Regions from separate parts of the Homo sapiens genome. Here region 2 is linked to region 1. Evidence: promoter capture Hi-C in 16 types of primary human blood cells and fetal thymus (Javierre and others, 2016). All regions are on one chromosome and are shown on one strand. The core of a region is centred on a gene start or on the middle of the fragment in contact, and the rest is flanking DNA. Distances in the headings are between cores, read along the strand shown.

Region 1 (7,611 bases), core at 2,536-5,035:
CACCTCCTCCTGGCACCTCCTCCTTTCTCTAACCTCCTGCCATCCACCACTGGGAAAAGGTCTGTTCCTAAGCTTTCTGCCTAGCTAACATGAAGCCAATTTAGGGACAGAGTACAGCTTTTCATCACACACACACAGATACACACACTCACACACAAATCAACCAGCTGCAGAGCGAGCAACAGGAGGTGGCAGGATGCTTGCCACTGTGTCACTGGATTTGTAAGCATCCCCTCCAAACTGTGGCCAAGGCTAGTTATTCCCTGGGCTAAAGCCAACCTGAGAAGTTGGGGACCCTGCCAAATCCCTGACAGCCCCTAAGCCTGACTCTGTTGCCAGAGCCACACAGGAAAGTCATTCATTCTTTTAAGAAAGGTTCAGTAAAAGATTAAGGAGCCCAGTATTTGTTCAGCAATGGGCTAGCTGGATAGAGGATATCTGGGCATTCACTTTAAGGAACCTAAAATATTGGAGGGATAGGAGTATGACATATACTCATTTAAAAGTTGAGTAACATCACAAGGGATGCCACTCAAAGCAGTATGTACGTAAATGCCAAATGACCTGGGCTTCAGAGCCAGACAGACTGGGTGCAGATCCTCATTCCGGGGTCACAGGCCAGTTCCTCATCTTTCCAGACCCTAATTTCTTTACCATGTAATAAAAGTAATGGCACCTGCCTTGTAGAGTTATTGAGGGGATTATATGAGGTCAGTTGCACATAACAAGCGCTCAGTAAATGCTTGAGTTTTGTTTGTTTTTTAAAGAACATCATAGAATAGTTGAGAATAAGGTTTAGGTAGCCCAGTGGAAATAGAAGTTTAAGATTAGCCCATTGGAAAACAAGCCTTCCTTGAAAGGGGAAAGGACTATTGTGAAAAAAGTCTGACATCTTAGTAGATACTTTAGAAGTGGAAACATACATGAAGGAGGCCTTCTGATTCCCTTTTTGTCATACAATTTGTTGGCTTTTTTATGAATATGAAAATGATTCATGTCTATTACAGAAAATCTGGAAAGCATAGAAAAACCCCAGGAAGAAAGCAAAAATCAAATATAATTCTGCACCAAGGAAAACGCCTATAAACATTTTGGTTTTCCTCCCTATATTTTCCAAATGCATATTTTAACATAACTGAGATCACACTATATACACAATTCTGAATCCTGCCTTTTGCACTTAATGTTTCATAAGTATTTCCCCATGTCACTAAAAATTCTTCACAAATAACATTCGCGATGTCCATATGGAATTTCAGATGTGGATGAACCAAAATCTTGTCAACTATTCCACTAACAGTGGTTATTTAGGGATGTTCAGACATTTCACTATTTAAAAAAAAATGTTTCCACAAATACCTTTGTGGCATAAGTTTTTATGAGTGGAGTTACTGTTCTGAAGTTCCTGCTGAATAGAAAATGCTTTCCAGTGAGGCTGTCCCAAGCCACATTCCCATCAGTGACAAGCGAGAGACAGCTGGTCTTTTCAAATCCGGAGACCAAATATTATCTTTGAAAAAAAATGGATTTTTGCCTAATTTGGTAGTCACCAAATAGCATCTCATTGTTCTTTTAATTATCTGCTTCCTTTTAGTAGAGATCCCTAAAAAGATCTGAAAGGAGTCTTCAGATAAAGGAAGGAGCTTTCTTTTGTCTGTCTACAATCAACAAATATTTATTATGCAAACCATTTTGCTCCGAGTTTTCTCCTCTTTCCCTTTTTGGACAGATTTGGGAGATCTCACCTTTCAGGTTTTAGACATCGTGCAGGGAGGAGTTTTGAGGTAGGGTGCAGCTTACGGTCCAGGATAAAACATACTGATTCTGCCACTACCAGGCTTTGTGAAAAGCAAGTCATGAAAACGCTCTGAAATTCTAGACCTTCAGTAGATAGGATCTACCGTGTCTATAAAAATATGAAGATCCTTAAGTTTTATTAAAGATTCGAAAAAAGTAAAAGTGTTTTTACGGTTTTATTTTCATTTTTATTTCTTACCGTTATCGTTTATTATAAAGGATATTATAAAGGATACAGATGAAGAGATACGTAATGCAAGGCCTGTGAGAAGGGGCGTGGAGCTTCCGAAACCTCTTCCAGCCACCACCCTCCAAGAACCTGGAGTTTCTTTTTTTTTTTTTAATTCTACAAATGTAATATTAGAATTGATTTTATCTGGCCATTAGTGTGTGTCCTAACTCGTTCGTTTCTGAGAGTCCCATCTCCCGGCCCGGATATCATCTTTCCTGTGTCAGTGAAAGTGCAGAGTAGATGAGAACCTTTAACCACCAACATTAGGGAGGGGTCCCAGACAAAGGGGGAAAGTCATGCTCTGTAGAGAAAAGGTTCCCTGCCTCCGAACTACCTCTGGAACACTCCAGACTGAAATGTTTCCTCTTTTGATATAGAAAAGAGGGATCGTGTGTAGAGTGCAGTCTGGGCAATCCCTCTCCTCGGGACCATTTCGGGGTGGGGGCCTCTGGGGTCCGTGTCGCGACGCACGCGCCTCGGTCCCAGCTATCTCCGCAGCGGCCACCCCGCCTGCGGACGCAGTTTCTCGGCCCCGCCCCACACTCGCTCCCCCGCCCCACCCAGTCTCCGCGCCGGAGGGAAGTGGCGCGAGGGGGAAAGCACTGTCTGCGCGCCCACTGCAAACCTCAGCCAGTCTGAGATCGCTTTAAACGTCTGACCCCCACCCCCACTCCGCCCCGCCCAGTTCTTCAACCTAATTTCTGATTCGTGCCAAAGCTTGTCCTCTGCTCAAAATCGTGGAAGACGCCGAGTATGGGGACCGAAGACCTGGGTTCAAGCCCGGCTTGGAATCCCTGCCCATCCCTGGCATTTCATCTCTCCGGGCTTATTTGCTGGTTTCTCCGAATGCGGGCCTTGTCTGGTTCACGCTGGATCCCCAACGCCTAGAACAGTGCGTGGCACGCAGTTCGTCCTTCTATAAATATCGGACTAAATGCATCTCTGTGATGGTAATACCCACACGGTGTTGTGAGAATGAATGAGTGATTCTGTGCAAGTTCCTAGTGATCTGTTACAAAAAGTACTGGTCGCTAAATTACTCTTATAATAAAGCATACTTTTAGGATAATAAAGCACTATTCGCGAATTGGTTACCGCTATTATGAAATTACTGAGCAATACATATCTACATCTGATCAGTCTCCAGAATTATGCCAAATCCTACCTTCTTCTGAAAGTATCTCCTAATTATCTGCACCTGACCCTAGTGATGCTGTGAATGTGCAAGTATAGCTACATCCTCCGAAGGAAGGATCTTTACTCCTTTTACCTCCTGAATGGGCTGCGTCTGCTGAAAGCGCGGGGAATGGCGTTGGAAGCTTGGCCCTACTTCCAGCATTGCCGCCTACTGGTTGGGTTACTCCAGCAAGTCACTCCCCTTCCCTGGGCCTCAGTGTCTCTACTGTAGCATTCCCAGGTCTGGAATTCCATCCACTTTAGCAAGGATGGACGCGCCACAGAGAGACGCGTTCCTAGCCCGCGCTTCCCACCTGTCTTCAGGCGCATCCCGCTTCCCTCAAACTTAGGAAATGCCTCTGGGAGGTCCTGTCCGGCTCCGGACTCACTACCGACCACCCGCAAACAGCAGGGTCCCCTGGGCTTCCCAAGCCGCGCACCTCTCCGCCCCGCCCCTGCGCCCTCCTTCCTCGCGTCTGCCCCTCTCCCCCACCCCGCCTTCTCCCTCCCCGCCCCAGCGGCGCATGCGCCGCGCTCGGAGCGTGTTTTTATAAAAGTCCGGCCGCGGCCAGAAACTTCAGTTTGTTGGCTGCGGCAGCAGGTAGCAAAGTGACGCCGAGGGCCTGAGTGCTCCAGTAGCCACCGCATCTGGAGAACCAGCGGTTACCATGGAGGGGATCAGTGTAAGTCCAGTTTCAACCTGCTTTGTCATAAATGTACAAACGTTTGAACTTAGAGCGCAGCCCCTCTCCGAGCGGGCAGAAGCGGCCAGGACATTGGAGGTACCCGTACTCCAAAAAAGGGTCACCGAAAGGAGTTTTCTTGACCATGCCTATATAGTGCGGGTGGGTGGGGGGGGAGCAGGATTGGAATCTTTTTCTCTGTGAGTCGAGGAGAAACGACTGGAAAGAGCGTTCCAGTGGCTGCATGTGTCTCCCCCTTGAGTCCCGCCGCGCGCGGCGGCTTGCACGCTGTTTGCAAACGTAAGAACATTCTGTGCACAAGTGCAGAGAAGGCGTGCGCGCTGCCTCGGGACTCAGACCACCGGTCTCTTCCTTGGGGAAGCGGGGATGTCTTGGAGCGAGTTACATTGTCTGAATTTAGAGGCGGAGGGCGGCGTGCCTGGGCTGAGTTCCCAGGAGGAGATTGCGCCCGCTTTAACTTCGGGGTTAAGCGCCTGGTGACTGTTCTTGACACTGGGTGCGTGTTTGTTAAACTCTGTGCGGCCGACGGAGCTGTGCCAGTCTCCCAGCACAGTAGGCAGAGGGCGGGAGAGGCGGGTGGACCCACCGCGCCGATCCTCTGAGGGGATCGAGTGGTGGCAGCAGCTAGGAGTTGATCCGCCCGCGCGCTTTGGGTTTGAGGGGGAAAACCTTCCCGCCGTCCGAAGCGCGCCTCTTCCCCACGGCCGCGAGTGGGTCCTGCAGTTCGAGAGTTTGGGGTCGTGCAGAGGTCAGCGGAGTGGTTTGACCTCCCCTTTGACACCGCGCAGCTGCCAGCCCTGAGATTTGCGCTCCGGGGATAGGAGCGGGTACGGGGTGAGGGGCGGGGGCGGTTAAGACCGCACCTGGGCTGCCAGGTCGCCGCCGCGAAGACTGGCAGGTGCAAGTGGGGAAACCGTTTGGCTCTCTCCGAGTCCAGTTGTGATGTTTAACCGTCGGTGGTTTCCAGAAACCTTTTGAAACCCTCTTGCTAGGGAGTTTTTGGTTTCCTGCAGCGGCGCGCAATTCAAAGACGCTCGCGGCGGAGCCGCCCAGTCGCTCCCCAGCACCCTGTGGGACAGAGCCTGGCGTGTCGCCCAGCGGAGCCCCTGCAGCGCTGCTTGCGGGCGGTTGGCGTGGGTGTAGTGGGCAGCCGCGGCGGCCCGGGGCTGGACGACCCGGCCCCCCGCGTGCCCACCGCCTGGAGGCTTCCAGCTGCCCACCTCCGGCCGGGTTAACTGGATCAGTGGCGGGGTAATGGGAAGCCACCCGGGAGAGTGAGGAAATGAAACTTGGGGCGAGGACCACGGGTGCAGACCCCGTTACCTTCTCCACCCAGGAAAATGCCCCGCTCCCTAACGTCCCAAACGCGCCAAGTGATAAACACGAGGATGGCAAGAGACCCACACACCGGAGGAGCGCCCGCTTGGGGGAGGAGGTGCCGTTTGTTCATTTTCTGACACTCCCGCCCAATATACCCCAAGCACCGAAGGGCCTTCGTTTTAAGACCGCATTCTCTTTACCCACTACAAGTTGCTTGAAGCCCAGAATGGTTTGTATTTAGGCAGGCGTGGGAAAATTAAGTTTTTGCGCTTTAGGAGAATGAGTCTTTGCAACGCCCCCGCCCTCCCCCCGTGATCCTCCCTTCTCCCCTCTTCCCTCCCTGGGCGAAAAACTTCTTACAAAAAGTTAATCACTGCCCCTCCTAGCAGCACCCACCCCACCCCCCACGCCGCCTGGGAGTGGCCTCTTTGTGTGTATTTTTTTTTTCCTCCTAAGGAAGGTTTTTTTTCTTCCCTCTAGTGGGCGGGGCAGAGGAGTTAGCCAAGATGTGACTTTGAAACCCTCAGCGTCTCAGTGCCCTTTTGTTCTAAACAAAGAATTTTGTAATTGGTTCTACCAAAGAAGGATATAATGAAGTCACTATGGGAAAAGATGGGGAGGAGAGTTGTAGGATTCTACATTAATTCTCTTGTGCCCTTAGCCCACTACTTCAGAATTTCCTGAAGAAAGCAAGCCTGAATTGGTTTTTTAAATTGCTTTAAAAATTTTTTTTAACTGGGTTAATGCTTGCTGAATTGGAAGTGAATGTCCATTCCTTTGCCTCTTTTGCAGATATACACTTCAGATAACTACACCGAGGAAATGGGCTCAGGGGACTATGACTCCATGAAGGAACCCTGTTTCCGTGAAGAAAATGCTAATTTCAATAAAATCTTCCTGCCCACCATCTACTCCATCATCTTCTTAACTGGCATTGTGGGCAATGGATTGGTCATCCTGGTCATGGGTTACCAGAAGAAACTGAGAAGCATGACGGACAAGTACAGGCTGCACCTGTCAGTGGCCGACCTCCTCTTTGTCATCACGCTTCCCTTCTGGGCAGTTGATGCCGTGGCAAACTGGTACTTTGGGAACTTCCTATGCAAGGCAGTCCATGTCATCTACACAGTCAACCTCTACAGCAGTGTCCTCATCCTGGCCTTCATCAGTCTGGACCGCTACCTGGCCATCGTCCACGCCACCAACAGTCAGAGGCCAAGGAAGCTGTTGGCTGAAAAGGTGGTCTATGTTGGCGTCTGGATCCCTGCCCTCCTGCTGACTATTCCCGACTTCATCTTTGCCAACGTCAGTGAGGCAGATGACAGATATATCTGTGACCGCTTCTACCCCAATGACTTGTGGGTGGTTGTGTTCCAGTTTCAGCACATCATGGTTGGCCTTATCCTGCCTGGTATTGTCATCCTGTCCTGCTATTGCATTATCATCTCCAAGCTGTCACACTCCAAGGGCCACCAGAAGCGCAAGGCCCTCAAGACCACAGTCATCCTCATCCTGGCTTTCTTCGCCTGTTGGCTGCCTTACTACATTGGGATCAGCATCGACTCCTTCATCCTCCTGGAAATCATCAAGCAAGGGTGTGAGTTTGAGAACACTGTGCACAAGTGGATTTCCATCACCGAGGCCCTAGCTTTCTTCCACTGTTGTCTGAACCCCATCCTCTATGCTTTCCTTGGAGCCAAATTTAAAACCTCTGCCCAGCACGCACTCACCTCTGTGAGCAGAGGGTCCAGCCTCAAGATCCTCTCCAAAGGAAAGCGAGGTGGACATTCATCTGTTTCCACTGAGTCTGAGTCTTCAAGTTTTCACTCCAGCTAACACAGATGTAAAAGACTTTTTTTTATACGATAAATAACTTTTTTTTAAGTTACACATTTTTCAGATATAAAAGACTGACCAATATTGTACAGTTTTTATTGCTTGTTGGATTTTTGTCTTGTGTTTCTTTAGTTTTTGTGAAGTTTAATTGACTTATTTATATAAATTTTTTTTGTTTCATATTGATGTGTGTCTAGGCAGGACCTGTGGCCAAGTTCTTAGTTGCTGTATGTCTCGTGGTAGGACTGTAGAAAAGGGAACTGAACATTCCAGAGCGTGTAGTGAATCACGTAAAGCTAGAAATGATCCCCAGCTGTTTATGCATAGATAATCTCTCCATTCCCGTGGAACGTTTTTCCTGTTCTTAAGACGTGATTTTGCTGTAGAAGATGGCACTTATAACCAAAGCCCAAAGTGGTATAGAAATGCTGGTTTTTCAGTTTTCAGGAGTGGGTTGATTTCAGCACCTACAGTGTACAGTCTTGTATTAAGTTGTTAATAAAAGTACATGTTAAACTTACTTAGTGTTATGTTCTGATTTCTGTT
Region 2 (7,611 bases), core at 1,555-4,054, 62 kb before region 1:
CCTGTTTAGAGGTAGAATCATTTTAGGGAAAACAGATGCATGTGGTCTCTTCCAAGATCACCTCTTGCCCCTTTCAGAGCCTCCTGCTTTGGGCCTGACACCCAAGGGGTCTCCAGAGCCCTACCCTCAGAGGCAGGAGGATGTTGATAGGCTCATCTACCCCAAAACATTAGGACTCCTTCTGAGTACTTTAACTGAGCAAGGAGGAGTCATCTCCTCACTCCCAGTCCAGCCCATCTACCCACAGAAGTAGCTGATTCTCAGTGCAAAGTCCAGCCTCTCTCTCCCCAGCTATGAGGTAAGCCTGGGTCTGTGTTCACCACTCTTTGCTGGACAGCTCCAGCCAGAGGACCCCAGGGCACCTTAAACCCAACAGACCCAAACTGACCTATATCCCTCCATTATCTTTAAAGGCAGAATGGAGTGAATCTCAAGACTTTGTCAGGTAGGCATTCCTTCTGTTCCTTCATTTAGTCTGTGCCAGTGCTTCTTAAAAATTAGGGCAAAGGCTTGTACATGCAAAATCATGTACAATTTACTGAGGGGACTTAAGATATCTATTAAGGGTAATTTTGGCTCAGTTGTCTACCACCAAACTAAAGAAACTAACATACAAGTGATGTAACACCTTCATACCTATTTCTGTTTGCAGCATTTACCACTCGTGAATGGGTTTTCCCACATTGCTAAATTCTGAATGCAAGCCAAGAGCCAATTTTTTTTCTGGGAATAATCTGGTCCTCTTATCTGCCTATTTTTATATGGGATGTCTTTTTCTTATTGGTTTATAGGTGCTTTTTACATATCATGCATATTGGCCAGTTAATTGGCATACATGGTACAATTATTTTCTCCTACTGTATTTTTTTTTTTTTGAGACGGAGTCTCGCTCTGTCACCAGGCTAGAGTACAGTGTCACGATCTCAGCCCACTGCAACCTCCACCTCCTGGGTTCAAGTGGTTCTCCTGCCTCAACCTCCCGAGTTGCTGGGACTACAGGCATGCACCACCATGCCCAGGTTTCACCATGTTGGCCAGGATGGTCTCAATCTCCTGACCTTGTGATCTGCCCACCTCGGCCTCTGAAAGTGCTGGGATTACAGGCATGAGCCACTGCGCCTGGCCTGATTAATTTTTAATGTTGCTTGTACCACCTTTCACTATACCAACAAACATTGTTGTTGTTTTCATTGTTGTTGTTAATGCTACAGACCATTCATGTGCTCCATTCGTGTGCTCCAACCTTCCAGAACAGTGTTTGGCATATAGAACATTCTCAGTAGACACTTGTGGATTGAAATAAATGAATAAGCAAATCTGTGCTGATGACAGGGACAGGAGACAGGGAAATTCTGGGCAAAAGAGAGTGGTTTTCTGGCGAGGGCCCCACCTTCAAGCCAAAAAGCCTAATACCAGGGCCCAAAGTGAGAACATACATCCCTATTTTCCCACTTGAATGTTGCCTTTTCCAAAACCCATGGCCCACCTCGCCCCTCATCCTGTGCCCATAAAAACCCCAGGCTCAGCCAGCAGAGAGGAGAAGCAGCTGGATGTTGGAAACTATGGTTGGACGTCAGAGAGAGGCAGCTTGACTTTAGAGAGACAGCTTGATGGTGTAGCTTTGAAGACAAGTCCGGCTGGGGATGGCCAGACTCCAAGGGAAGATTACCTTCCCACTTTGTTCCCTTTTCAGCTCCCCTTTCCACTGAGAGCCACTTTCATCAGCAATAAAATCCCCTGCATTTACCATCTCTTATTCGTTCGTGCAACCTCATTCCTCCTGGATACCAAACAAGAACTCGGGTGTCGTGAGTGTGGGTGCAAAAGGCTGTCACACTGACCCTCCACTGAGCTGTTAACACTTAAGCCATCTGTGGATGGCAGAGCTAAAAGGGCATTGTAACACTCCTTCTGGGGCTTCAGGGGTCACGGGCACCCATCCTAGATGCTGCTGCAGGGCCCACACGGAGTTTTGCTCCTACTGGCTCCCAAAAGCACTCGCCCAGACTCCTGCACCCACTCACCTGTGCTGCTCCTGCTAAAAGGGGTGAAACACAGTGGGACCAAGATAGTGGAGTCTACTTCTTCTGGCACCAAAGCAGCCAGCTTGTTCTAACACCCATGCACTCCAGTTCCTGCCCATGAAGGGGTCAGGGAAATATCCTGCTTCCCTGATGGGAGATGTGTAAATATCACTAGGGAAATTCTCATGTTTGGAGGTGAAAGTCTGGATGAGAAAGACCTTGCTGGTACAATACTTAAGGCTGCTTTGAGATTTTTATTCTCATGAGCTCATGGGCAGCTGCTGTCTACCTCCTCTTTTCACAAAGTCTCAGCCTCCAGGAAAGGTGCAGAGCAAAAAGATGCCCACTGTCTGGCACAACTGCAGTCTTTTCTTGCTGAACTACTTACCCATGGGTCCTTCAGCCACTAAGGAGCACAAATGAAATTGCTCAGGTGTCTTGGAAGTGGCAGCATGTCCTCCCTTCCTGCCACGATCTCAGAAACCTAAAGAATTTGGTTGAAACCACACAAACAACACACACTGCGACCTGAATTCTAAACTTACAAGCAATCGCTTTATTCTTTCCCCTCCTCTGGCCAGTCCTGTTTTTCTAACCTGACTGGAAGCTTACTAAGGGAAATAAAGCCCACTACCTTTACACACCCACACCATGCTTAGTTTCCAAGGACTGCTCCAAGGGTATAGCGCTAAGAGCACAGCATTCGGAGTTATGCAGACACACTTTCACACCCTGGCTCAGCTGCTCTAGAGCTATTTAATCCTGACGTAACCTGGCTTCACTGTGCCTTGGTTTCTTCATCTATAAACCCTATTTTAGAGGATGGTTGAGAGGATTAACTAAGTAAATACATGTCTAGTTCTTATGGTCCTGGCTAAGAAAAAAACCCTTGAGACTTTCAGATAATCTGAATACACACTTGTTGTCTTGAGTCTGATCTGAAGGGAAGCTTTCAGTGGTGGTGCAAGAGGATACTGTAAATTAAATCTTCCATTCTAAAAAGAGATATGGTAGCTGAACACATACCTATACCCTGAGGGCTAATTTGGCCATTGTCCTTTTTACTTGAAGAGGTTGTTGTCCTAGATCCTATTTCCTGAGGCTTATTTCAGACCAACTGGGAAAAAATAAATGATGTTAGGATTTAACCCAGGCTCAAACAGGAAGGCTGGCCAGACCCAGGGCCACCTGGGGAGTCAAGGGGGTGGGAGCTCTGGCTCAGTCAATAGCTGTTCTAGGCACTCAGATTCTAGAACATCCTGGGTGCTCCCTGCTGCAGGCCTGGACTCGGGTCCTGTAGTTGTTTTTTGCAGTTGTTTCAGCCATTCCCCTGGGCTCCTTACCCTCAAGGTTATGGGTAGAGAAAAATCCAGGCCAGATTTTACCAGAGCCTTTTTCTCTCCTGGGTCAGAACAGGATTTTCTCTCAGTTTGATCCATTTTTTCATTTAAAAGTTGATATTCAACTTAACACAACGAAATCTCACTCCCCAGAGAATTAGAAAAATAAGCCACCCAAATCCTATTCAATAGGGTAAATATTGGGATAAGATAAACATCTGAGCTGCCTTAAAAAGACCATTGTATTCAAGCAAACTGCCATTTCCTTACCTTAAGGAAGGCTCTGAATTCAGAAAGCCTGAAGCTCTGAGGAGAGGACCCAGCTATCGTAAAAGAAGGTTATTATTATAGTCACCTTTAGCCAGAGCCAACTAGTGACAAGTTCCAGTTGGTTTGCTCATCCATTTAGGAACCCTGCAGGGTTCAGATCTCTATCCCTATTTCACAAAGGCCCATCTCTCACCCCATTTTCACCAAGACTTTGTGGCTGCCTCCCTCCCATGCCCAATGGATGGACCAGATCAAACGATCTGACACCATCTTGGTTCAATTGCCTTGACTTGCACTGGGGCTCAGAAAATGATACCCCGAAGTATGGCGCTTGAGCATGCTAAGTACTTTGAACTGAAGGAAATTGGAAAGCTTCAGAAGCAAGGACTCTCTGACCTTCTCCTGCTCTCCTATCTCTTACCCCTCTTTATTTTCCCTGCCAAAGCAAGTCATAGAAATCAGAATTCCTCTTCCCTAAGGTGGCTCATAGAAACTAGAACCACTTTCCCCAAAAGCAAGCCATAAAAACCTAGAAAGGCCACCCTCTCCCTTCTCCCTTGAAGACCTTAATTTCAGAGGTTCCTGACTTATACCCCAGGGGAGGGACTGTTACAGAGAAAATCCAAGAAGAATCTGGACAGGCCCTGCTGGGTCTCCGGCTTCATGACCATTAGATCACACCCTTTTGTTCAATCACATTTCTATACAGCTGTCCATTTTTCATGAAACCTAAACATAAAAACAGAGATTTCCCTAGATTTTGGGGTCTGCATTTCTGAAGGCTCCCATGTCACATAACACGTGATTAAATACATTTGTTATGCTTTTCTTTGTTAGCCTAGCTTTTGTTATGGTGGTGACCCTTAAGATGGGTGAGAGATCATACCTTTCCCCCCTACGCTTTGCAGCATGACCTTAGGCTCAGGGTTCCTCCTTTAGCTTCATTCTCTCCATGTCTGTCTTTGTATTTGCCACCTTCTTTCTGGGATGATAAACTGGTCAACAGTAACAATGCTGGCTGCATTTCACTGAGTAACTTCCCACATGGTTCTAAACCCTTTGTATGTATTTATATTTTTTCTTTCTTTTTTTTTTTTTGAGATGGAGTCTTGCTCTGTCACCCAGGCTGGAGTGCAGTGGCACAATCTTGGCTCACTGCAACCTCCGCCTCCCAGATTCAAGCGATTCTCCCGCCTCAGCCTCCCGAGCAGCTGGGACTACAGGTGTGTGCCACCACACCCAGCTAATTTTTGTATTTTCAGTAGAGATGGCAGTTCACCATATTGGCCAGGCTGGTCTCAAACTCCTGACCTCGTGATCCCCCCACCTTGGCCTCCCAAAGTGCTGGGATTACAGGCGTGAGCCACCGCGCCCAACCTATATATAATTTAATCCTATAAATTTCTTACTATTAGGTTGGTGCAAAAGTAATTGCAGTTTTTGATATTTAAAAGTAATAGCAAAGACCACAACTACTTTTGCTCCAACCTAATATTATTAACCACATTTTTACAGAGGCATAGGAAGTCCAGTAACATACCAACTTTAAACCCTGTGTTTTTCATCAAAATTGAAGGCAGACAACAGATAGGAAGGGCCAGAGAGCAGTCTTGGCTTTTTTAAGCCCATGACTATATCCGTGAACCCTCCTGCTGATGTTTTCCCAAAGGGCCTGTCCAGCTGGTGTTGATCAGTCCTTTGCTTCAGACTGAAGGGTGAAAGTCTGGAACAAAGGACTTTGAAAGACTTGAGATGTTAAAAAGGCCATTTGATCTCAGAAAGTCACCAGAATTCCAGAAATTTCCTTAGGGTGCAAAGAGCTGCCAAAAAAGAAAGAGGAAAGGGAAAGGGAGGGGAGGGGAGGAAAAAGGAGGGAAGGGGAGGGGAGGAGAGGGAACAGGAAAGGGGAAAATGGAAAGGGGAAAGGAAAAAGGAAAGGAGAAAGGGACGGAGGGAAGGAGAGAGGAAGGGAGGAAGGAATGAAAGAAAAAGTCTTCTCTTGGTTCTGGATAACATGGAGGTACTTCATGAAACCACCTGGGTGTTCAGAAGCCCCAGCCAAAGGCATTGTCCCAAAGGGGCCACTGGGAAGTGGAGGCTTCTCTATGAAAAGTGCACTAAAGTACAGGCTAAGAAGGTGGAGAGAGAGGTCACAGTTTGGTATTCTCGTTTTAGGGGTTGGGTGGTAGGTTTTTTTGCACTAGTTGTTGGGTTTTTTAAAGTTTCTCCTGAAGCTTGTGTTTTCAGATGACTATCTTCTGAGCAGTCAAGCAAATGGACAAACACATTAAGGCAAAAACAAACATTTACATAGTCAGGGAAGTCGTTTCTCCCAAGTCCCCTAGTTCACAGGACCATATCCATTTAGGAATTAAAACAAGCTGACTTTTTTTTTTCTGAGGAGAGTGGATTCTTTCCAGAATTCCCATATCTAGAAAGCAGGAGAGAAACAAACTTTAATGACAGGGTCCTTTCTTCCCTTTCCACAAACGACCCAATTGTCATGAGTAATGCACTTTTTCTGTTTGCAGCCTCATCATGATCCAGCAAATGAACCCCAACAATTAGCCTCTTCATTTCCATCAGACCATGTCCTTGAACTCCAGAAAGCTGCTATGGGAGCCAACCATATATATATATTTTTTTTAATTAATCTAGCTGGGCTCTGGCCAGTCATTAAAACTAGGAGATTAATCATTCCTTCCTTCTTCTTTTAAACCCATACAACCCATGTAGACCGAAAATTACAGAAAGTTCAAGCTGATAGGCTTCTTAGGGATCATCTAGTACAGTGTTTTTGAATTGAACCATTAAGGGGTCAGAAAGTCAATATAATGAGTTATAACCAGCATTTTTTAAAAAAAGACAACACAGAGAATTTCATGTAGTACAAGTGAGTATGGCTTCATGAAACATGTTTCAATTATGTATATGGTTCTGAGAGTGGCAACATAAAATTGTGGGCACTTCTTACTATGGGTCCTGGTCCAAAAAGTTTGAAAATCCTACCTCCCTGGTCTTCCAGATGGGAAAAGTCAAGCCCCAAGAGAGGCAGTGACTTACCCAAGGTTCTGTTGCAAATCAGTCCTTCTCCACCCACTTCCTGGCATGCCAACACCCCTGGCTCCCTCCCATGTGTTAGCACACAAATCAGCATGCATCAGGTCCTGCCTGGTGTTGGGTCCATCAGCATTTAACTCCTTTCAGACAGCAGGCCCTCTAGAAGGCCCAATGATACCCCATCATTTTGTCACCCCACAGCACTGAGCACAGTGCAATGCACCTGGAGCAGATGTTGAATGTCCACCTGGTGAATTACTGAGGTGAGCAGAAGTGGTCTCAGGAGGAAGAAAAGGTAAAAAAAAAAAAAAAAAAAAAACCCAGAGTGAGAATGGGCTGCCATGTTTGTGAGCTCCCAAACGCTAATGGCAATGATAACAATCGTTCCAAAGACGGCCGTCTACCAGCTTTTTATGTTCCCCCAGGAGCTGGGCTGAGCTCTGTGTATGCAATGCTTCATTCAGTCCTCACAACAAGCTGGTGGAATGCTACTGCCCCAGGGCCTACTGAAGTTTAGAAACCAGGTCATTTAGCTAACCAGGATTCAATCCCAAGTGCTATGGTTTGGATGTGGTTTGTCCCCGGCAAAACTCATGTTGAAATGTATTTGCCAATGTGACAGTGTTGACAGATGGTGGGACCTTTCAAAGGCATTTGGGTCATGAGGGATCTGCCCTAATGAAGGAATTAATGCAGTCTCAAGGAGTGGGGGAATGAGCGGGTTCTTGCTCTCTCAGGAATAGATTTGTTACCACACAAGCAGGTTGATATAAAGCAAGGCTACTCTCCTGTTTGGTCTCTTTGCATACACCCATTTTCCTTTCCACTTTTTACCCATGAGGAACACAAGACCTTCACCAAATGGACTGCCCAGTCTTGAACATCCCAGCCTCTAGAATCATGAGCCAAATAAACTT

The links. The method cuts DNA at HindIII sites, captures the fragments that hold promoters and counts their contacts. A CHiCAGO score of 5 or more calls a contact.
Region 2: a fragment that was not itself captured here is called in contact with the fragment with the promoter of CXCR4 in region 1 in 1 of 17 cell types (non-activated CD4 T cells); the score reaches 6.2 in non-activated CD4 T cells.

The regions. Positions count from the first base shown.
Region 1 is chr2:136,114,323-136,121,933 of GRCh38, reverse strand. It overlaps CXCR4 (C-X-C motif chemokine receptor 4), which reads left to right and starts at 3,785. Exons shown (of 2, transcript NM_003467.3): 1 at 3,785-3,888; 2 at 6,022-7,585. The coding sequence starts at 3,874. The coding sequence ends at 7,065. RefSeq lists an enhancer at 4,794-4,863 and a silencer at 4,994-5,163. The HindIII fragment of the contact is 7,141 bases long and covers 3,351-7,611 here.
Region 2 is chr2:136,175,217-136,182,827 of GRCh38, reverse strand. No RefSeq gene overlaps it. Among named protein-coding and RNA genes, the nearest start is that of CXCR4, 61 kb to the right of the region's middle. The HindIII fragment of the contact is 342 bases long and covers 2,634-2,975 here.